Regions from separate parts of the Homo sapiens genome. Here all the other regions are linked to region 2. The links are contacts of gene promoters, found by promoter capture Hi-C in blood cells and fetal thymus (Javierre and others, 2016). All regions are on one chromosome and are shown on one strand. Each heading gives the region's core, a stretch centred on a gene start or on the middle of the fragment in contact. The rest is flanking DNA. Distances are from core to core; before and after follow the strand shown.

The links. Contacts are between HindIII fragments. The CHiCAGO score rates a contact against its expected background, and 5 or more counts as called.
Region 1: a contact is called between a fragment that was not itself captured here and the fragment with the promoter of TSPAN17 in region 2, in 1 of 17 cell types (M2 macrophages). The highest score is 5.2, in M2 macrophages.
Region 3: a fragment that was not itself captured here is called in contact with the fragment with the promoter of TSPAN17 in region 2 in 6 of 17 cell types (endothelial precursors, total B cells, naive CD8 T cells and 3 more); the score reaches 8.7 in endothelial precursors.
Region 4: a fragment that was not itself captured here is called in contact with the fragment with the promoter of TSPAN17 in region 2 in 1 of 17 cell types (endothelial precursors); the score reaches 5.2 in endothelial precursors.
Region 5: the fragment with the promoter of FGFR4 here is called in contact with the fragment with the promoter of TSPAN17 in region 2 in 1 of 17 cell types (endothelial precursors); the score reaches 5.2 in endothelial precursors.
Region 6: a fragment that was not itself captured here is called in contact with the fragment with the promoter of TSPAN17 in region 2 in 14 of 17 cell types (naive CD8 T cells, M0 macrophages, naive CD4 T cells and 11 more); the score reaches 10.1 in naive CD8 T cells.
Region 7: a contact is called between a fragment that was not itself captured here and the fragment with the promoter of TSPAN17 in region 2, in 1 of 17 cell types (endothelial precursors). The highest score is 5.3, in endothelial precursors.

Annotation. Positions count from the first base shown.
Region 1 is chr5:176,941,825-176,944,975 of GRCh38, reverse strand. It overlaps UIMC1 (ubiquitin interaction motif containing 1), which reads left to right. Exons shown (of 15, transcript NM_001199298.2): 10 at 1,488-1,641. Among named protein-coding and RNA genes, the nearest start is that of HK3, 44 kb to the right of the region's middle. RefSeq lists enhancers at 1-803, 804-1,662. The HindIII fragment of the contact is 4,397 bases long and covers 1-3,151 here.
Region 2 is chr5:176,646,068-176,649,385 of GRCh38, reverse strand. It overlaps TSPAN17 (tetraspanin 17), which reads right to left and starts at 1,902. Exons shown (of 9, transcript NM_130465.5): 1 at 1,684-1,902. The coding sequence starts at 1,770. It overlaps EIF4E1B (eukaryotic translation initiation factor 4E family member 1B), which reads right to left. Exons shown (of 9, transcript NM_001099408.2): 9 at 2,742-3,318. RefSeq lists enhancers at 1-642, 3,004-3,298 and a silencer at 1,671-2,330. The HindIII fragment of the contact is 21,997 bases long and covers 1-2,790 here.
Region 3 is chr5:177,108,453-177,111,548 of GRCh38, reverse strand. No RefSeq gene overlaps it. Among named protein-coding and RNA genes, the nearest start is that of FGFR4, 23 kb to the right of the region's middle. RefSeq lists an enhancer at 816-1,315. The HindIII fragment of the contact is 6,039 bases long and covers 1-3,096 here.
Region 4 is chr5:176,992,893-176,996,011 of GRCh38, reverse strand. All of the region lies in intron 1 of UIMC1 (ubiquitin interaction motif containing 1), which reads left to right. Among named protein-coding and RNA genes, the nearest start is that of UIMC1, 12 kb to the left of the region's middle. The HindIII fragment of the contact is 4,492 bases long and covers 1-3,119 here.
Region 5 is chr5:177,085,574-177,088,708 of GRCh38, reverse strand. FGFR4 (fibroblast growth factor receptor 4) reads right to left here and starts at 1,794. Exons shown (of 18, transcript NM_213647.3): 1 at 1,632-1,794. RefSeq lists an enhancer at 1,278-1,728, silencers at 1,424-1,883, 2,134-2,183 and a promoter at 1,694-1,913. The HindIII fragment of the contact is 20,491 bases long and covers 1-3,135 here.
Region 6 is chr5:176,966,175-176,969,219 of GRCh38, reverse strand. UIMC1 (ubiquitin interaction motif containing 1) reads left to right here. Exons shown (of 15, transcript NM_001199298.2): 6 at 1-665. Among named protein-coding and RNA genes, the nearest start is that of UIMC1, 39 kb to the left of the region's middle. The HindIII fragment of the contact is 1,963 bases long and covers 616-2,578 here.
Region 7 is chr5:176,920,969-176,924,442 of GRCh38, reverse strand. The region is part of intron 10 of UIMC1 (ubiquitin interaction motif containing 1); the gene reads left to right. Among named protein-coding and RNA genes, the nearest start is that of HK3, 23 kb to the right of the region's middle. The HindIII fragment of the contact is 696 bases long and covers 1,548-2,243 here.

The DNA of each region.
Region 1 (3,151 bases), core at 618-3,117, 300 kb before region 2:
CCCTTCTGTAATAGCAGAACTAGTGATACTTCTGTCCAGCGGCTTGTTGGGAGGGATGGATATGGAAAATGACTGGTGGAGCCTGCATAGTGTAAGAACTCAACCACTGTTAGTTCCTTTCTCATCTTTTAGGTTTTACGCCTTTAGAGTATGTCTTTTAATAAAAGGCAGGTGATGTTGAAAACAGGACATTTTCTGGCAGTTTGACTTGGTATTTAGATGGCCTGTTTTCATCTCTGCTGGATCACACTTATAAGCATTAGGTTTTAGAGATAGCCCCAACCTCTTACCCCAAAAGACCCAGTTGACTCAGAAGTCACATTTTCTATGCATTGAAGTTTTGGTCGTGTTTTGTTCTTGTATCAGAAGATATTTTATTTGTTTTCCTCATGTAGTAAGGTGTAATGACAGCCCGGGTGTCCCTTGCTTTAAATGTAAGCAGTAGCTATGCAGGATGTTTTCACATTGATTGGATAGGACATGCTGTCCTTTGAAGCAAGTGTTAGGCAGTAGTGCTGCAGTGCTCACACACACTGTTGAATTAATCACTGCAGAGTTCTTGGCTCTGATCAACCTGTGTAGGTAAAATAAAACTGCCTTTAAGAGATACCAGCAACTGTAGGAGAAATGATGACTACAAAACAGAGGAATAAGAGATAGGTTTAAGAGTGGCTTTGGCAGAATTGATTATTTTAACTAATGAATTATTTGGTGCTTCTTAAGTATGTAGATCTTAGTTTCCTCTTTCAATCCAGAAAGTCACAAATAAAACACAGGTCTTAGGTCTTATGGGTCTAAGTACAGACTTATGTTCTTAACTTAAATCCTAGTTGTGCTGTTTTTGGCTTAGAGCTCTTTTGTTTTCTAACTCCTTATGTCTTAAAGTCACTTACAGTAATAACAGTCCTTTTGTGAAATTGAAAATGTGTCCTTAAGGTGCTGTTGATATGCAAAATGTGAAACCCAGCAGGCACAGCACACTGATGCAATGAGGATTGTGCCTTACAATGTGGTAGAGATCAGTGCCCTCAAGTTTTTGAGGCAGATTCTAGTCCTTCATTTGAATCTCAACACTCCCACTTACTTGTTCTGTGACTTTGCAAATTGCTTTACTGTTTTACACAAGTACTTTTCTCACGTGTACAAAAGGAGTGTGCTAATAACTTTGTAAGATTAAATGAGTAATACATATAGAGTGTTTAATACATAGTTGTCAGTATAAATATACTTACATATAAATGAGTAATATATAAACTTACTGATAAACGAGTAATACATGTAGAGTGTTTAATACATAGTTGGCAGTATAAGGCACTGAATAAGTATTGACTCTATCAGTAGTATCTCTCAATCTTTACTCCTGAATTTGATAAGCTGTTGTTGTCTCTTTGAAAGTAAGTGAAATATGGGGTGGAGTCTCTTGCAGTTCGTTGTAGGGAATGATATGAACTAAAGCTGTTATGATTGCTGTTTGTCATGTTCTTCAGGTTGGTAACAAGGAAGATGCTGAGAAGGAAGTAGCTATTTCTACCTTCTCATCCAGTAACCAGGTATCCTGCCCGCTATGTGACCAATGCTTTCCACCCACAAAGATTGAACGACATGCCATGTACTGCAATGGTCTGATGGAGGAAGATACAGGTAAAGACCCAGCAGGACAGCCAAACTCTTACTTTTTTGTGTGGTGGTTTTATAATCCTATACATTACAATGCAGGGAAAAAACATAGCTGTTCTTCAAAGTTAAAGTTGTTGTTGGTCTTGGGTTTTTTCTATCTAGTTATTTTTCTAGTACTTTTATGTTCATCATTACTTTTAGCAGGTATTTTGTCCTGTTACACATGCCTCAGGAGAAGGGGAAGGGAAAAGTCTTTCATTTTTTAATGTTTTTGTTTGTTTGTTTGTTCTGTTTGTTTTTTGAGCCAGAGTCTCTGTCACCCATGCTGGATTGCAGTGGCGCGATCTTGGCTTTCTGCAACCTCCGCCTCCCAGGTTCAAACGATTCTCACGCCTTAGCCTCCCAAGTAGCTGGGACTACAGGCTTGCGCCACCATGCCTGGCTAATTTTTTTTGTACTTTTTTTCAGTAGAGACAGGGTTTCGCCATGTTGGCCAGGCTGCTCTCGAACTCATGACCTCAAGTGATTCTTCTGCCTTGGCCTCCCAAAGTGCTGAGATTACAGGTGTGACCCACTGCACCTGGCCCAACCTTTTTTTTTTTTTTTTTTTTTTAAGACGGAGTCTCGCTCTGTCGCCCAGGCTGGAGTGCAGTGGTGCGATCTTGGCTCACTGAAAGCTCCGCCTCCTGGGTTCACACCATTCTCCTGCCTCAGCCTCCCGAGTAGCTGGGACTACAGGTGCCTGCCACCATGCCCAGCTAATTTTTGTATTTTTTTTTTAGTAGAGATGGGGTTTCACCATATTAGCCATGATGGTCTCCATCTCCTGACCTCGTGATCCACCTGCCTCGGCCTCCCAAAGTGTTGGGATTACAGGTGTAAGCCACCACGCCCAGCCTGCACCTGGCCCATCTTTTAACGTATTAACTTATTCTTTTACATAGGTAGGCTAGAAATCAGTGCAGTGCAGTGGACCTTGCATTTCAACTTATGTATTCAAATATTGAGATTCCTGTGGAACTTGAACTAAGTTCCACGTTTTTCATTCAGAATAAACCCCTTGTAGGTTTTTTCCCTCTTTTTGTAGTTTGTTTTAATAGAAATTTTACCTAGAGACAGCAGCTGAAAAATATCACTAATTTACATTCATGTCCTACATATCATATCTCTGCTGAGTTACCGAGGAGCTGTTGGTTTATCTCTTTAAGAGTGTACCAGAGGCTGGGCGCGGTGGTTCATGCCTGTAATCCCTTTGGGAGGCTGAGGCGGGTGGGTCACCTGAGGTCAGGAGTTCGAGACCAGCCTGGTCAACGTGGTGAAACCCTGTCTCTACTAAAAATACAAAAAATTAACCAGGCGTGGTGCCGGGCTCCTGTAATCCCAGCTACTCAGGAGGCTGAGTCAGGAGAATTGCTTGAACCCGGGAGGCAGAGGTTGTAATGAGCCGAGATCGTGCCATTGCACTCCAGCCTGGGCAACAAGAGTGAAACTTCATCTCAAAAAAAAAAAAGTCTGTACCAAAATCCCTACTTTT
Region 2 (3,318 bases), core at 653-3,152:
CCAGGGTCTGCCTGACATTAAACATGAAAACCTCTGTGCCTGTTCCACAAGCAGCCTCCCTTAGGCCACCTTAACCCAAATCTGAAATCCTCCCTCCAGCCCCCAAGTGACCCAGCCCAGTCAATTCAGCCTCTTGACTTTCCCAGCAACCTCCCTCACCTTTCCCACCTCACCATCCCAGCTTTGCCCCAGCCCTGCCCCCATTCCAAACCTCCAGGCCCTGCCCCTCATCCACCCTCCACACAGCAGCCAGGCAAGCGGTCTCCAGAACAGAAGCCAGATCAGACCCATCACTGGAAGCCCTCGCTTCTCCATGCCACCTTAACATAACACCCCACGCTCCGCCCCAGCAACAAACCCGGGTCTCTCACGCCTGCTCCCCCTCGGTATTTGAGGTTACTTCTGCTCACAGCTCTGCCTCACCTCCACCCTCTGCCCACTAAGCCGTCACCTTGGCTCTGTACTTTCTGGCTGTGTGACCCTAGGTAAGTGACTTAATTTCTCTGTGTCTATTCCTTCAGTTTCCCCATCTGTAAAATGCAGATAATAAGGCAGTTGTGAGAATACAACAAATTGAACTCATTGTATCTGCCTAACAGCCCTCACAGGCAGATTCTTTATCGTCGTCTCCCAGGCAGGCAAGCTGAGGCCCGGAGAGGAGAGATGACTTGCCCAAGGTGTCCCAGCCAGGCCTGCTACAGCCAGGCCTTCTGACTTCTTTGCCAGTGCTCCCACACACTGCCCACACCCTCAAGAGCCTAGCGCTGCAGTGCAAGGACACCCACCACACCAGTGAGCTCGGTGACACGTGGGTGGGGGGCAGTGCCACTGAGTCTTGCTGAACACAAGGGAAAAGGCCTGGCATCTTGACCCAAGGCCTCAGGAGCAGAGACTGCAGAGGGCCACGGCTTTGGAGAGATGGGAAAAATGACCTGGCAGGGCCCAGGGGGACAGATGCCACCCTGGGAGGGGCACTAGTAGCTCCCTTCCCCGGTAGGGGCAGACCCGCCCAGGAGCCTCAGCTTGTCAGCTGTGGAATGTTGAATTCTGTTCCCCAAGGCCAGCTCCCAGGCTCTCAACCGGGGAGATCCTCTCCCAGCCGCCAAGGACTCGCCATTGTCCCTCCCTGCCCCTCCTGGCAGGTCAGCCTCCTTGTGCGGGACTGGGGTGGGCAGAGGACTGTGACCCACCCCACTCTGCAGGAGCCTAAGGTGAGGCACCTGACCCAGGTACTACTGGAAGGGAAAGGAGGCCGGGGAAGGGGCCTGGCGGCTCCCTTCACGCCAGAATCTCCTTACCGGCTAAACCAGGGGTGGGGCTTGGCACGCATCCCACATCCCAGGGTAGGAAGGAGGGCTGGGCGAGAGGGGGCAACCTGCACCTAGCACGCCCCTGGGGTCTTCAAGGAAACACCTTCCCTTTCTCCACCAGGCCTCGGGATTATTTAGGGAGACTCCCTACCCCAACCCCGACCCCACGCTGTCGCTAGGACCCGCCCCCAGCAATCCGGGCCTCTGTAGCTACCTCGGGTGGTCCTGGAAGTGGGCGTGGGTGTGGCAGAAGTGGGGGGATGGTCCCGAGCTCCAAACTCTTGGGGCAGGGAGTGGTCTCCCCCAGCAAAAGACTGAATCTCCCTCTCCCACCACCCCCCAGCACAGGGCAAGGCGCAGACCCCGCGCTCACCCAGAAGACAATGTTGAAGCCAAACAGGAAGTATTTCCCGCAGCAGCCGACCTCAGGTTCCTGGAAATGCTGGTGCTTGCCGGGCATGGTGAGCGGCCACCCGCCGGCCCGGAAACCGGAGCCGGGAGCCAGGCCCAGCGCCCCGCGGGCCGCCCTGGGCTAGAGCCGCCCGGGGCCTAGCCGGGCGGCTGCGGCTTCATGGCCTCGGCCACACAGAGCGCCGGTCGGGCCCCGCCCGCCCCTCAGGGACCGCCCTCAGCATCCAGACCTCCTTGCCCGGAGCCCTGCTGTCCCCGCCTCTGGACCGGGCCCCGCCCCCACAGCCCTCAGTCCCTTTGGAGTCCCGCCTCCTGACCTGGCTCCGCCCCCATAGATCAACTCAGTCCCGCCTGAGCCCCGCCTCTGGACCTGGCTCCGCTTCCCGAGCTCCGCCCCCACAGCCTGATTCGGACCTCCTCGCAGCCCCGCCTTCGGCCAGGCCCCGCCCCCGCGCAGGCCGCCGCCGCGTTTCCCAGCGTCCTGCAGACCCGCCCGGGACGCCGGCTGATGGCGCCGGAGGCCGCCGGGGTGTAGAAGCCTTGCTTCCCCTGCTGGGTACCAGCGCCATCCCAATCCCCAGCCTGCTGTTGGAGCCCATCCCAGGGGAAGGTTAACTGCTGCTCTGGCAGGCGAATGGGGAAGCTGGTCCGGATTGAGTTTTTAACACGTGCAGGACGTTTTGTCATTGTGGAGTCGCATCAGGCTCACCTTCACCCAGCGGAAATCCAGCTCTACTTATCCTGACTCAAACTCAGGCCAAACGAGGGCCTGGGCCTTGGTGCCACGCCGGCTGCGCCCTGCCAGGGGCATATGCCCCCCGGAACCTGGCTCAAGCCCCCTTGGTGGCTGAGTTTCCCCAGCCACACCCCCTGTCCTCCATACTGGCCAGGGTCCCGGTCAGGCTCCTTGGTACCCAGTGATCTCACATGAGCCCCTGTAAGACAGGACAGAGGCAGATCAAAGTTTGGGGGAACCTGAATCTTACTCCAGTTTGAAGCCCTCTTAAAAATAATTCCAACTTTGTTCAGAAGTATTTATTTAAAACAGGAACAGAAAGATGCTTAAGCTTTTATTATCAAGTTTATCCACTTCCACCACTTCTACCAGAACCTTGGTGAGGCCTAGCCCAGCATCCCTCCACCTCCACTTCAGTCTGGCCCTGAGGCAGGCAAGGCCCAGACAGCCCTGGTCACAGCTGGGGAGAAGGGGAGCGGCCTTGCAAGGCTCTCTCAGTCCTCAGCAACCCACGTATCCCTCTGTACAAATGATGGCGTTCACCCTCCAGAATGTCTGTGCCCTTGAGCCCACCACCCATGGAAGAGTCTGTCTCTCAGGCCACCTCACCTCCTTCCTGGGTGGAAACAGTAAACGCTGGACTATGGGTTTCTCCGCCTACCATAGAGCCCTCCTTCCCCGCCATGACTCACCCCACCCTCAGGAGTTTTTTCCACCCTGCTGCTGTCCTGTGGCCCCAGGACAAGCTAGGTCCTCAGACTGCCACCACTACCCCCATCTAGCCCCTAAGGCTCAGGCCCCAACTCATGTTAAAGAGTGTTTGCATTCCTGTTCACTTGAGGACAGGTAAGAACTAGGCTG
Region 3 (3,096 bases), core at 154-2,653, 460 kb before region 2:
GCTCACTGCAACCTCCGCCTCCCAGGTTCAAGCAATTCTCTGCCTCAGTCTCCCAAGTAGCTGGGACTACAGGCGCCCGCCACCACGCCCAGCTAATTTTTTGTATTTTTAGTAGAGACGGGGTTTCACCATCTTGGCCAGGCTGGTCTTGAGCTCCTGACCTTGTGATCCCCCGCCTCAGTCTCCCAAAGTGCTGGGATTACAGGTGTGAGCCACTGCGCCCAGCCCCCTTTTATTTTTATTTTTATTTTGTTTTTGAGAGGGAGTCTTGCTCTGTCATCCAGGCTGGAGTGCAGTGGCATGATCTCGGCTCACTGCAACCTCCACCTCCTGGGCTCAAGCGATTCTCCTGCCTCAGCCTCCCGAGTAGCTGGGCTACCTAGTAGCCCACCCACACCCAGCTAATTTTTGTATTTTTAGTAGAGACAGGGTTTCACTGTGTTGGCCAGGCTCATCTCAAACTCCTGACCTCAGGTGATCTGCCCGCCTCAGCCTCCCAAAGTGCTGGGATTACAGGCATGAACCACTGTGCCCGGCCTCCCTTTTATTTATTTATTTATTTATTTATTTATTTATTTATTTATTTCAGACAGGAGCTTGCTCTGTGTTCCAGGCTGGAGTGCAGAGACTCAATATCGTAGCTCACTGCAACCTACTGGGCCAGATCCTGAAGGCCTCCTCTGCGTGTTAAGGAGCTTGGACTATTCCAAGCAGAGACTGTTCTCTCTGTAAGAGTGATCCTACCACCTCAGCCTCCCAAGTAGCTGGGACTACAGGCACGTGTTCTCGCACTCGGCTAATTGTTTTATTTTTTTTGTAGAGACAGGGTCTCACTGTGTTGCCCAGACTGGTCCTGAACTCCTGGCCTCAAGTCATTCTCCCGCCTCAGCCTCCCAAAATGCTGGGATTTCAGGCGTGAAATGCCATGCCTGGCCTAGCAAATCCTCTTATTCTGCATCTGGCCTTCCACTTTTCTCTATCCCCTTGGCCAAGCTGGGAGCCTCAGAATGTAGCTGTGCAGAGGCGCTGCTGGCCCCAGACCAGAGAGTGGGAGACAGCGTGGATGGTCACTCTGTGGATGCTCTGGGGCTCTTACTTCTGTCTTCTTGGGAGGCCACACATGTACTTTGGGGGGCTGTTCCGGTTCCCGGCTCTGAGTCTAGCCAGGCGCTGCAACAATCCCCTCCACTGCCTGCCCATCTGCACCAGCCCCTTGCTTTCCTGTCTTGTCACTTGCCTTAGGATAAACCCACAGCCTACGAGGCCCCCTGGGTTTGGCCTCATCTGGCACCGTGTTCCCCCTCACTCTTGTGCTCTGTCCACGGAGCTGGATCGGATGCCCTCACCTTCGCCCTGCACCTGCCTGCCTCCAGACCTTTGCAGAGACCATTCTGTCTGCCTGGAATGCATTTCCTCCCACTCTTCACAAGGCCAAGGCTCTCCTCCTTCAACTCAAACATCATTCCCTCAGGGAACCCTTCCCGGAGCCGGAGCCGGAGCCGGAGCCGGCCAGGATCAGTCCCCACCGTCAGCACTCACAGCTGCAGGCTGTTGACCTTCAGAGCTCTGCGTTTCATTACAGTCAGCATTTTCCTGGGTGTTTGTTGAATATCTGTCTCCATTTGTAGATACGAAACTCCTCAGGGCAGGGGCCAGGTCTGTCTTCACTGGGTATACCCAGTGACTAGAAGAGTACCTGGCCTATGGTAGGTGCCCAGTAAACATTTCTTGATTTACTGAGCCTTTCAATTCCCAACACTCCACAACTCCACACCCCTGCACGCCTTCCTCTATCTGGTCAGTGCTCAGTGCTTCGTTCTTTTTTTTTTTTCTTCTAATACAGAGTTTTGCTCTTGTTGCCCAGGCTGGAGTGCAATGGCACAATCTCAGCTCACTGCAACCTCTGCCTCCCGGGTTCCAGCAATTCTCCTGCCTCAGCCTCCGGAGTAGCTGGGATTACAGGCGCGTGCCACCACGCCCGGCTAATTTTTGTATTTTTAGTAGAGACAGGGTTTCACCATGTTGGCCAAAATGGTTTTGATCTCCTGATCTCGAGATCCATCCGCCTCGGCCTCCCAAAGTGCTGGGATTACAGGCGTGAGACACTACGCCAGGCCTCATTCTCCATTCTTATCACCCTGCCCCCCAGACAGTCGTGCTAATAGTTTTGTGTGTGCGTTCTTGGAAAATGTGTGTTTTCCGTGTCATCATTTCGTGCAAGTGGCTTTGTGCTTTAGATCTCATTCCATTTCTTCCTCTTGCCTCTCAGCACGAGATTTCTAAGTCCCCCATGTGGCTCTGTGTCCACCGGGTCCTCCACACATTCTGCTGATCCGCCTTCCAGTGAGGAACCCCAGGCTGGATCCAACCCCTCCTCCTGCCTTCCCCACACGGTCACATGGGAGGATCTCTGTGTGTTGTGTGTGTGTGTGTGTGTGTGTGTGTGTGTGTGTGTGTGTGTTTGGGGGCAGTTATATGTTCAGGGCAACATTTCCAGGTCATAGGGCATGTGTGTATATACTTAGCTGAATGCTCCTAGACTTCGCTGGGACAGCTTCAGCCCCCAGTCCAGGAGAGCCTCTCGTCTCCTTGCCAGCACCTGGAGTTCTCCAGCTTTTTTTTTTTTTTTTTTTTGAGACGGAGTCTCTCTCTGTCACCCAGGCTGGAGTGCAGTGGGACGATCTCAGCTCACTGCAAGCTCCGCCTCCTGGGTTCACGCCATTCTCCTGCCTCAGCCTCCTGAGTAGCTGAGATTACAGGTGTGCACCACCATGCCTGGTTAATTTTTGTATTTTTAGTAGAGACGGGGTTTCACCCTACTGGTCAGGCTGGTCTTGAACTCCTGACCTCGTGATCTGCCCTCCTTGGCCTCCCAAAATGCTGGGATTACAGGCTTGAGTCACCATGCCTGGCTAATTTTTGTACTTTTAGTGGAGACGGGGTTTCACCATGTTGCCCAGGCTGGTCTCGAAATCCTGACCTCAGGTGATCTGCCTGCCTTGGCATCCCAAAGTGCTGGGATTACAGGTGTGAGCCACCATGCCCGGCCTTTTTTTTTTTTTTTTTTTTTTTTTTTTTTTAAATACCGAGTTTTGC
Region 4 (3,119 bases), core at 23-2,522, 350 kb before region 2:
TAAGGCTGCTATGATGAACATTCACGTCTTTATTTCTCTTGAGTAAATACCTAGGAATGAAATGGCTGGGTAATGTAGTAGATACATGCTTATTTTTTAAGAAACTCCCAAACTGTTTTCCAAAGTGGATGTACCACTTTATATTCCTTTTTTTTTTTTTTTTTTTTTGAGATGGAGTTTCACTCTTGTTGCCCAGGCTGGAGTGCAATGGCATGATCTCGGCTCACCGCAACCTCTGCCTCCCAGGTTCAAGCGATTGTCCTGCCTCAACCTCCCAAGTAGCTGGGACTACGGGCTCCTGCCACCATGCCTGGCTAATTTTTTGTGTTTGTAGTAGAGATGGGGTTTCACTGTGTTAGCCAGGATGGTCTCGATCTTTTCACCTCGTGATCCACCCGCCTTGGACTCCCAAAGTGCTAGGATTACAGGTGTGAGCCACCGTGCCTGGCCTTTTTTTTTTTTTTTTTTTTTTTTGGAGACAGAGTCTTTCTCTGTCACCCAGTCTGGAGTGCAGTGGTATGGTCTCGGCTCCTGAGTTCAAGCAATTCAATTCTCCTACCCCAGCCTCCTGAGTAACTGGAATTACAGGTGCATGTCACCACACCCAGCTAATTTTTGCATTTTTAGTAAAGACGGGGTTTCACTGTGTTGGCCAGGCTGGTCTCAAATCCTTGTCCTCAAGCAATCTGCCTATCTCGACCTCCCAAAGTGCTGGGATTACAAGTGTGAGCCACCATGCCCAGCCCACAAGTTGTCATTTCATCTGTTGATGGAATCTGGGTTGTCTTTGGTGTTTGACATTATGGAAAGAGCTGCTATGAACATACATATACAAGTTTTTGGGTGGTAATGTTTTCATTTCTACTGAGTAATTAATAGTAGTGGAATTGAAGCAAAGTTAAAAAGAGAAAAACAAGTTTTCCTGTACTTGGCTGACTCACTCCAAGGCCAGCAATAGGCAGGGCCCTGGCAGAGCCTTGATAACACTATCTGAAAAGCCAGAGCCCAAAGGAATGAGCTCCAGATACTCTCCCAGCACACTGCCCCCCACACCCCGCCCCAGAGTGAGGATAAGAAAAGAAAACAAATTCCTTTCTCATAACTATTTCTACAAATACCTGTGTTTCACAAGTTTTGTAAGTTCCTGTTTTCCCTACTGTGCAGCTGCATGATCACAAGCTATGCCTGCGTTGCGAGACCTGTCGCAATTTAATTAACTGCCTTTGTTCTGCTTCTGTAAGCCTGCTTGCCTGCCCCATGAGTTTCGCACTGTCACATTCCCACCGCACCATTCAAACTAGCCAACTCCCTTTCAGAAGTGTGTATAAAAGTCAAGCCCTGTCTTTGTTGAGGGCTCAGCCTTTGGATGTTAATCTGCTGGGCTGGTGGCCACCTAAAGAAAATCCTCCTGTTCCACGCATTGGTCTCTCCAGTCTCCAGATTCCTGCAACAGAATGACTGGCTTACATGACAGTTATACTTTTTTTTTTTTTTTTTTTTTAAAGAAACTGCCAGTTTTCCAAAGTGGTTATGCCATTTTACATTCCCATTAGCAGTATATGAGAGGTTCATTATATTCTGCATTCCTGCCCACATTTGTATTGTCACTATTTTCAATTTTAGCCATTCTAATGGATATACAGTGTTAGGCCATTGTAAATTTAATTTGTAATTTCTTGATGAATAATGATATTGAATATCTGTTTGTTTTTCCTTATTGGCCTTTAGTATATCTGCTTTTGTGAAGTTTGTTAATATCGCTTGCTTCTTTTAAATATTGGTTTGTCTTTTTTTATTTTTTCTTTTGAGATAGGGTCTCAGTGTGTTGTTCAGGCTGGAGTGTAATTTTTGGAATCCACCTAGAGATGTAAAGTGACATAGCCAGCCTCCCAGTGTTTATGTGTTTAATAAGCATGTTTATGCTGCATTACCCAAGTGTTTTTTACTATTTCATCCTTTTCACACTTTGATTTTTGTATACTTTCTTCTTTTTTTTTTTTTTTGAGATAGAGTTTCACTCTTGTTACCCAGGCTGGACTGCAGTGGTGTGATCTTGGCTCACTGCAACCTCTGCTTCCTGAGTGCAAGCAGTTCTCCTGCCTCAGCCTCCCAAGTAGCTGGGACTACAAGTGCCTGCCACCATTCCCAGCTAATTTTTGTATTTTTAGTAGAGACGGGGTTTCACCATGTTGACCAGGCTGGTCTCAAACTCCTGACCTCAGGTGATCCTCCTGCCTCAGCCTCCCAATGTGGTGGGATTACAGGCGTGAGCCACCGCGCCTGGCAGATTTTTGTATGTTTTCCAGTACACAAAATACATACATTAGTATTCATATAGTTAAAAAAGTAAATATACATATGTTGTGGTTGTGCCTTACAAATTATCAGTAGAGATACTTTATAATTATTAGACTTTAAGTCTTTAAGTTCTGGGGTACATGTGCAGAACGTACAGGTTTTTTATATAGGTATATTCGTGCCATGATGATTAGATATATTTTTAAAAGGTAAGAAAATATTTGTGCCTGGGCATGGAGGCTCACATCTGTAATCCCAGCACTTTGGGAGACCTGGGTGGGAGGATCACTTGAGCCCAGGAGTTCGAGACCAGTCTGGGCAATGTAGTGAGACCTTGTCTCTACAAAAAATAAAAAGTAAATTAGCTGGGTGTGGTGGCACATGCCTGTGGTCCTAGCTACTTGGGAGGTTGAGATGGAAGAATTGCTTGAGTCTAGGAGGTTGAGATTGTGGTGAGCCGTGTTGGCCTCATAAAGTGCTGGGATTACAGCATGAGCCACTGCACCCGGCCAAGAATTTTTTTTTTTTTTTTTGAGATGGAGTCTTGCTCTGTTGCCCAGGCTGGAGTGCAGTGGCACAGTCTTGGCTCAACCCCTGTCTCTGGGGTTCAAATGATTCTCATGCCTCAGCCTCCCCAGTAGCTGGGATTATAGGTGCACACCACCATGCCCAGCTGATTTTTGTATTTTTAGTAGAGATGGGGTTTCGCCATGTTGGCCATGCTGGTCTCCAACTCCTGATCTCAGGTGATCCACCTGCCTCAGCCTCCCAAAGTGCTGGGATTACAGGCGTGAGCCAACATTTCTGGCCCAATAATTGTT
Region 5 (3,135 bases), core at 545-3,044, 440 kb before region 2:
CAGGCTGTGATGTACACACACCCCAGCTGGCTATCCTCTTCCAAATGCTACCAAGGACGCCTCTGTTCCCCAAAATAGAACACTCAGAACTGAGTCTCAGCTGGGACAAAGGAATCGGTGACCACTGCAGTCCTAGGGGCCTATGGGTGGCACTGGTGTCTCTGGATCTACCCTGCGTGGGAAGCCTATCACACCTCCTCCTCCTTGGTCACTGCCACTCCACTTCCAGTCCATCTGGCTTCCCCTGCCCCTTCTCAAGGCAGGTCATGGCCATCTCTTGCATGGGCCTCTGGAAACATCCTCTCCCTCGGCTCTTCAACCTTCATCTTCCAGCAGAGTTTTAAAAAACTACAAGTCGGCTGGGCGCGATGGTTCACACCTGTAATCCCAGCACTTTGGGAGGCCGAGGTGGGCGGATCACGAGGTCAGGAGATCGAGAACATCCTGGCTAACACGGTGAAACCCCGTCTCTACTAAAAATACAAAAAATTAGCCGGGCGCGGTGGCGGGCGCCTGTAGTCCCAGCTACTCGGGAGGCTGAGGCAGGAGAATGGCGCGAACCCGGGAGGCGGAGCTTGCAGTGAGCCGAGATCGCGCCACTGCACTCCAGCCTGGGCGACAGAGTGAGACTCCGTCTCAAAAAAAACAAAATAAAAAAATAAAATAAAATAAAAAAACAAACAAAAAAACCTGCAAGTCTGCCATGTCATGCCCCCCAGCTTGCAAGCCCTTAATGGCTACCTGTGCCCAGCAGGATCCAGCTCAACATCCTAGGGCTCCCTCTCTGCCGCTGCCTATCTCTTTGGTCACACCGTCTGCCCCTTCAGGAGCGCTGAAGCCATTGGCTTTCAAAACTGGGCACATGTGCTCTCTTGCCCATCCCTCTGTGCCCCTCATTGCTCTTCTCTACCTGACTCAGATACTGCTGTCTCTGGCCCACCTCAACTCTCGAATCCAGTCGGATCCTCCTTGGTAAAACTCCCTACCAAGCTCGGCTTGGCAGGGAGGGCAGCTCTTTGGGTACACAGCTTGGGCTGGGAGTGGGTGGGGAGGCCCGGGGAGTTTATTCCTACCCCAGGCTGCCCTGATATCAGAGTCCTTAGTCGAGTCACCCATGGCTGCTGACCGCTGACCGACCACCCCCCACGTGGGAATGGAGGGCCTGCCTTAGGCATCAGACAGTCCTGGGTTCTCCTTCAGCCTCCCGCACTCGCGCTGGAGGCCCCCGGGCACTAAGTGACTGAACTTTTCGGGGCCTCAGGTCCCTCATCTCTGCCGCCGGCGCGAAGACAGCCGCAGGGACAAGCGCGCTTGTCCTCCCCCACCCTTGCCGGGCCAGCCTGGGGGGAGGTGCGAATCAATGGGTCCCGAGGGTAGCTGCACAGGGCCAGCCTGCCCCCGCCTCGGTGGGCAATGAGTAACCAGCTCCGCGGCCGGGGTGCTCTTTGGACGGAGCGGGACAAAAGGCCCTGTGTGCACTGCGGGTTACTGATTTACCGCCCCCTCCACCCCCTGCCGCCCGGCGGACGCCCAGGTCCCCTGCGCCGGGAGGGGCAGTCCCCGTAGCCCCGCCGCCTCTCGCCCCCTGGCGGCTGGGAGCGCAGCCCGGGCCCACAAGGGTTCCGGCTCACCTCGAGCCTGCGTGACTCCGCGCCCAGCACAGGGTCCTGCTCACCTGGCTCCTCCTCACCTGGCTCCTCCGCCGCCTCACTCCCAGCTCCAGCCGGCCGCGACCCCTGCACGCGGCAGGGTCCGCAGACAGCCCGAGCGCTCCTCGGCCGGGAGCGAGGAATGTACCCGCGACGGCGGCGTGGCCGCGAGCGGCCCACCTCCTGTCCCACCCCGCCCCTCGGGCCCGCCCCCTCCTGCTCGGGCCCGCCCCTCCTTCCACGCCCCCCCCCCCCCCACCCGGGCCCGCCCACCTCCTGCCACACCCCCTCGGGCCCGCCCCGCCTAGACCAGCTCGAGCCGGAGAGAGGTGTGGCCAGGGGTGGCCAAGATCCCCGCCCACCTGGAGAGCCCCGCCCCCGACCCAGTCAGCCCACTCCCGGGACCCCGCCCCAGCCTATACACACACCCCTACACGCAACCCCCCTATACACACCCCATTCAGGCTCCGCCTCTTTCGCCCCACCCAGGCCCCAGGCCAGGCTCCTAAATTCTAGTCTACTACCCAGCTCTACTCCTTGCTTTTCACCCTTCAGGGAATGCCTGGCTCCCCTGTCTTCTGCGCAGTGCCGTGCAGCGGATAGGAGAACCCCTTCCTTCTGCTCCCTCATTTGTTCCCTGCGCAACCTGCGGAGTGATACTTACAACACAAATCTGACTGTGTCAGCCACTCCCTTAAATTTTCCTATAGATTCCCATAGCTCTTTATACATAGATTGCCATGACCCACGCCTCCTGGCTCCCACCCTGCTACTCCTGGGCAGTTTCACGTACCATTCTCTCTTCCTGGAATGGCCCTTGGTCTGGTTAATTTCATATTATTCTCAGCTCACTTCCTTCAGGAAGCCCTCTGGACTTGCAAGCTCCTCTTAGATGACGTCTCTACTGTGAGGATGGAGAAAGAAACAGGGTGAAGTGGTTCAGAGCACAGACTACAGGGCTGGACGTCATAGGCCCAGCTCTCAGCACCATCACACAAGGCCTCAGTCTTCACTGTCCTTTCAGTAAAACAGGCAAATGATAGTCTCACCCACAAGAGGTTGTTGCAAAAAGTAGACATGTTAGCAGTATGTGTAAGCCTGGCATGCAGCGCTTGCTTTGTAATACTAGCTGTAATTATTTAGGACCTGTTATTTCTTCAGCACGCTTGCCAGAATTGTAACTGAACAGTTAATTATGTAAATAGCTGTGGAATGGCCGGGCACAATGACGGGTGCCTGTAGTTCTAGTTACTAGGAGACTGAGGTAGGAGGACAGCTTGAATTCAGGAGTGTGAGGCCAGCCCTGGCAACATAGTTGCCCTGTCTCTATTTTTCAGTAGAGGAACTGTGTCCTCAGACCTCACCATTAGAGTTCAAGTGTCTGGCATACAGTAGGTGCTCCCAGATAGCTCCGTGCCCACCTGGCTCATGTTTGCCTCACCTGTAAGCACTTCTCTCCTGAGCATCTAGACTGTGGCCAAACCAG
Region 6 (3,045 bases), core at 348-2,847, 320 kb before region 2:
GAGAGGAGCCTTGGGACCACACTGAAAAAACTGAAGAGGAGCCGGTCTCTGGCAGCTCAGGAAGCTGGGACCAGTCAAGCCAGCCAGTGTTTGAGAATGTGAACGTTAAATCTTTTGACAGATGTACTGGCCACTCGGCTGAGCACACACAGTGTGGGAAGCCACAGGAAAGTACTGGGAGGGGTTCTGCTTTTCTCAAAGCTGTCCAGGGTAGCGGGGACACATCTAGGCACTGTCTACCTACCCTAGCAGATGCCAAAGGTCTCCAGGACACTGGGGGCACTGTGAACTATTTCTGGGGTATTCCATTCTGCCCTGATGGAGTAGACCCTAACCAGTATACCAAGGTCATTCTCTGCCAGTTGGAGGTTTATCAAAAGAGCCTGAAAATGGCTCAGAGGCAGCTCCTTAATAAAAAAGGTTTTGGGGAACCAGTGTTACCTAGACCTCCTTCTCTGATCCAGAATGAATGTGGCCAAGGAGAGCAGGCTAGTGAGAAAAATGAATGCATCTCAGAAGATATGGGAGATGAAGACAAAGAGGAGAGGCAGGAGTCTAGGGCATCTGACTGGCACTCAAAAACCAAGGATTTCCAGGAAAGCTCAATTAAAAGCTTGAAAGAGAAACTTTTGTTGGAGGAAGAACCAACAACCAGTCATGGTCAGGTAAGGGTCAGTGATGCTGTAATTAAGGATGATTTATTCACAGATTAAAACAAGGATTATTTTAGCTGTTATTTTTGTGGTCTTCCCCTCCTTGATTATTAAAGTAATACATGTTCACTATAGAAAATTAGGAAAGTACAGGAGAGTATAAAGAAGAAAAAAACTACCATTTTTTTTTTTTTGAGTTGGAGTCTCGCTCTGTCTCCCAGGCTGGAGTGCAATGGCGCAATCTTCGGCTCACTGCAATCTCCACCTCCCGGGTTCAAGCAGTTCTCCTGCCTCAGCCTTCCAAGTAGCTGGGATTACAGGTGCTTGCCACTATGCCCTGCTAATTTTTGTACTTTTAGTAGAGACGGGGTTTTACCCTGTTGGCTAGGCTGGTCTTGAACTCCTGACCTTGTGATCTGCATGCCTTGGCCTCCCAAAGTGTTGGGATTACAGGCGTGAGCCACCACACCTGGCCAGTCATCATTTCTATGCATACAAAAATACATGAAAAAATTTTTTGAACAAAATGAAGACTCTTCTGTGTTAAGTTTTGTTCCTCTCCCTACTTTATAGTTTATCTTAGATCATTTCTTAATAGATGACTTATTCTACCATAGATAAACCATAATTTATTTTTTGTATAAATTTTTTTTTTTTTTTTTTAAAGACAAGGTCTCGCTCTGTCACCCAGGCTAGAGTGCACCGATGCCATCTTGGGTCCCTGCAGCCTCCACCTCTGGGATCAAGCGATCCCCCAACCTCAGCCCGTCGCAATAGCTGGGACCATAGGTGCACGCTACTACGCTGAGCTAATTTTTATATTTTTTGTAGAGATTGAGTTTCACTTTGTTGCCCAGGCTGGTCTCGAACTCCTGTACTCAAGCCATCCACCTACCTTGTTCTCCTGAAGTGTTGGCAGTGTAGGCATGAGCCAACACGCCTGGTCTAAAAATTATTATTATTTCTGAAAGGTTAAATTTTTGAATAGGTAACAATATTCACATGGCTCGAAATTCAAAAATATATAAGTAAAAAGTCTTAACTTTTCTCCCTATCACCTAGCCAGCCAGTTCCCCTCTCTGGACTCAAATTTGTGTTACTAGTTCTAGTGTATCCTTCCAAGATACTTTATCTGGTACAAGCAGAATACATTTTCTTTTCCCTGCCTTCTTTTACACAAATGATTTACACATTATTTTCTACTTTTTTCATTTAATATCCTAATGAGATCATTACATAACAGTATATAAAGAATTTCTTCATCTTTTTTTTTTTTTGGATGTGAAAAATACCATGTGTGGATTAGTCAGAGTTTACTGTTACAGATAGTAAAATGTCCAGAAGACATTTCATCCACATGGAAGATATTTGTATTATATGATAATTTTCTGTAGCTGTAATTGGTGGACCAAAAAATGTATTTATAATTTCATTAGCTGTTGCCAAATTGCCCTCCATAGAGATCATATACATTTACATTCCCACTGGCAGTGTATGAATACTAGTTTCTCCATACCTACAGTAATGCAGTATTGTCAGACTTCTTGATCTTTGCCAGTCTGAGAGATGAAAAATGGCGTCTCAGTGTAGTCTTAATTTGCGTATCTCTTACTATTTGTGAGGCTGAACTTTTTTCTCACATGTCTAAGACCCATTTGTATTTCCTTTTCTGTCTGTTAGATCTTATGATCATTTTTTCTTTTGATAATCTATTGGTTTGTGGATACACTTTATATAGTAGAGAAAGTAGTCCTTTGTGATATGAAGTATGGATAGTTTCCGAGTTATTTTTTCCCATTACATAATGGTGTATATTTATTATTTTGCTTGTAGTGGTTTTGAATAATTTATTGAAACCAATCTTCATCTTGGTACATTTAGTTTGCTTTTTCTGAAGTAGCTAGATTATATTGTGTATGAAAGCTTATATCTTATTTTTCCCTTTGAATATTATAAAGCAATAATATAAACTCTTTATATATAAATTGTAATTTTAAAGAGTATTCTGTTTTATGACTATACTGTTTTTTCTTGCTATTTCTGTTACCAGACTTTGACTTTTGGTTTTGTTTTACTATTATGTTATTCTGTCTTTCTTGTGTTATGATAAAGGTTCAAGAAATGGTAACTTTGAGGAGCTTCATAGAATAGAGAACATGGATTTGGAGTTGAGTTCTGATTTTTGTGTTTAGTAATTTGTGTGTTTTTGAGCAAGTCACTTAACCTCTTTGAATCCCAGTTTCACGTCTATACAGTGGGAATAACAATTCCTATCTTTCGACAGTTATTTTAATGATTAAAGTGAATTTGTGTAAAATGTCTACTGCAATGCATAGCATAGGCACTGAACAACTGGTAATTCTCTCTAAGGGATCAAAGGTCATTCACTGGG
Region 7 (3,474 bases), core at 646-3,145, 280 kb before region 2:
TACAAGTGTCTTGATTATAGTAGCTTCATAGCGAGTCTTAAAGTCAGGTAGCAGGTAGCATAATTTCTCATTTGTTCTTTTTCAAGATTGTGGTAGATATTATTTTTATTATTTTTTTTTTTTTGAGACGAATTCTCACTCTTGTCCCCCAGGCTGGAGTGCAGTGGTACGATCTCGGCTCACTGCAACCTCCGCCTCCCAGGTTCAAGCGATTCTCCTGCCTCAGCTTCCTGAGTAGCTGGGATTACAGGCACCTGCCACCATGCCTGGCTAATTTTTGTAGTTTTAGTAGAGATGGGGTTTCGCCATGTTGGCCAGGCTGGTCTTGACTTCCTGACCTCAGGTGATCCACCTGCCTCGGCCCCCCAAAGTGCTGGGATTACACGCGTGAGCCACCGTGCCCGGCCAGATTGTGGTAGATATTCTAGTCTTTCACGGTTTCATATAAATTATTGAGCCAACATGTAAATATACGATGTAATTTCCAGTTTTATCCCTGATAATGTGTGTGTGTCTGTGTGTGTGTGTGTGTGTGTGTGTGTCTGTGTGTGTGTATATATATATATATTTTTTTTTTTTGAGACAGAGTCTTGCTCTGTTGCCCAGGCTGGAGTGCAGTGGCACAATCTCGGCTCACTGCAACCTCTGTCTCCTGGGTTCAAGCGATTCTCTTGCCTCAGCCTCCTGAGTAGCTGGGATTATAGGCACCCGCCACCATGGCCGGCTAATTTTCATATTTTTAGTAGAGACAGAGTTTTACCAAGTTGGCCAGGCTGGTCTCAAACTGCTGACCTCAAGTGATCTGTCCGCCTCAGCCTCCCAAAGTGCAGGGATTACAGGTGTGAGCCACCGTGCCCGACCTTATTTTCTTTCTTTCTTTTTTTTTTTTGCTTTTGATACAGTCTCACTGTGTTGCCCAGGCTGGAGTGCAGTGGCACTGTCTCAGCTCACTGCAGCCTGTGCCTCCCAGGTTCAAGGGATTCTTGTACCTCAGCCTTCCAAGTAGCTGGGATTACAAGCATGTGCCACGACACCCAGCTAATTATTTCTTGAAGTGTATTTTATCTGGTAGAACTACTGGATATGGTTCTAGTCATTTCAGTCTTATTCCTACTGTTTGCCTGATACATCTTTTTCCATTCTTTTAACTGATCTGTGTTTTTATTTTTAAAATGTGTCTCCTGTAGACAGCATACCATTGGGTCATGCTTTTATCCATTCTGACAATCTCTTGTTCTCTCAGGTACTAGGCTTGATAATCTTATTCTAATAGACATAGCTTCTAACTCAAACATCTTACGTGATTATGTTGGTAGTTCCTAAATAGAAATCTTTACAACCCTAAAAAGATAAGCATTGCTGGGTCCATTTACAGATGAGCAAACAAAGGCTTAGGGGCTTGAAGCCTATAAATACCTGCTCTGGCATAGGATTCAAAGGCAGTTAGACTCCAAAGACAGTACTGCAATGCCAGACTGCCTTCTTTGCTGCAAAAAAGCCACAGAGGCCCCCTGCCTACTCAAAATGTAGCGATTTTCTTTCAAGCTTAGAGATAAGCCTGTTCTCTTAAGAGGTGCACTTTTACTGATCTACTTCCTTACTAGTACTTGTCTATAATATTTATAGCTTAATCTTTAACAGCTGAAATTTTTGTTTAAGCAATTTGATAATATATACGTAGAACTTAAAAGTAATTCATATCTTCTGACCCATGAATTAAAGTTTGAAAATCTACTCTAAAAACGTCATCAGAATTTAGATGAAATTGTATAGACAAAGATGGTTTATCAAAGCATTATTTATAACAATGAACAACTTAACCCAATGTTCAAAAACAAGACGAAGTATTATATAAGGATTCAAAATAAAGACTGAAAGAAAATACAGTATTCTGAAATATTAACCATAATTTGGAGGAGACTAAAAGCAGAGAGACAGATGATAAAGCAGTGTTAGTAGAAGTGGACGGACTTGAGAATCTTTTGGTGAGAGAAGCAAACCTTGTGACTGGTCAAGATGAGAGAAGGCAATCTTAACTCAGGTTTCTGGCTAAGCCAATTGTAGGGTACTCAACTTAGAAAGCCCCTCTGAGTAATTCAGAAGATCACTGTGTTGTTTAACTATTGCTTGTACTTCCTTACTGACAACCCAGTTGGTATTTATTTAGCAGCAACTATAACGCAGATACTGTTCTGCAAGCTGAGGGTACAGTACTAAACACAAGTCAGTGTTCTTATAAAGCTTACCTTTTTGTGAGGGAAACAGATAATAAATACAATTTAAGAAAAACAAGGCAAGAAGAGGGGATGGAGAGTGACTAGAACAGAGGAAAAAGGGGGCTCGATTAAAGAGAAAGATCAAGGGAGACTTCTTGAGGTGATATTTGAATAGAGTCATTCTAGGTCAGGGAATAAATACAAAGGCCCTAAAGCAAGAGTGTGTTTGGCATGTTTCTTAGAGCTGCAGGAAAGACACAATGACTGAATTAGATTGAGCGACAGGGGGAAAGGAGAGAAGAAATAAACAGTGGTCAGATCATGTGAGGTGAGGTTTTTGTACTTCATTCCAAATATGATGAAAAGCCATAGGGGGGTTGAGAACGAGGGAATGATGTAATCTAACTCTGGCTACAATGTGGAAAATAATCTATAGAGGGATGGGGCAAAAATGGAATTGAGGAGACTAAGCAGGGGTGGAGGGGAGTGGCTGTTGCATTATTCCAGGGAAGATCTGATGTTTGCTTTGACCATAGAGGTAGCTGTGAGGTAAAGAAGTTGTCAGATTTGGGAATGTTTTGAAGGTTGAACCTACAGGATTTATTGGAGTGTGAGAGAACAAGAAAGACTAAGGTGAAATCAAGGTTTTGCCCCAAGCAACTGGGTTAATGATGACTTCGTTGTTTGAGAGCGGGAACACTGGGGCAGGAACAGGTTTGGAGGAAGAAATTAAGAATTTGGTTTTGTACATAATTTTAAGATGCCCAGTGAATAACCAAATGAAGATGTTGAGCAGACAGCAGGATATACAAGTCTAGAAATAACCTTATGGGAAATATTACTGCATATTTGTATGCTGATGGAATGATCTAAAAAAAGAGGGAAAAATTGATGTTTCAGGAGAGATGATGGCAGGAGGGGAATCCTTAATTAAGCAAGAAGCGTTCAGATTCAGGATCAAATGGAAAAGTGAGCCTTAGATAGCCGTGTGGGCAATTCATTCTGTGCAATAGGAGGGAAGGCAGAGGATATGGGTACAGATGCAGATAGACTAATACTTTTGGTGGTGGAAGAGTGTAGAAGTTCTCTCAAGTACTACTTTTTTCTCATCAAAAAAGTCTGAAAGGTTGGTTTAACATTAGAAAATCAGTTAATATACTGTATCATAGAACAAAGGACAAAAACCACACGATATCTAAATGGACACAGAAAAAGCATTTGAGAGAATTCAATACTCCTTCATGACAATAAAATACTC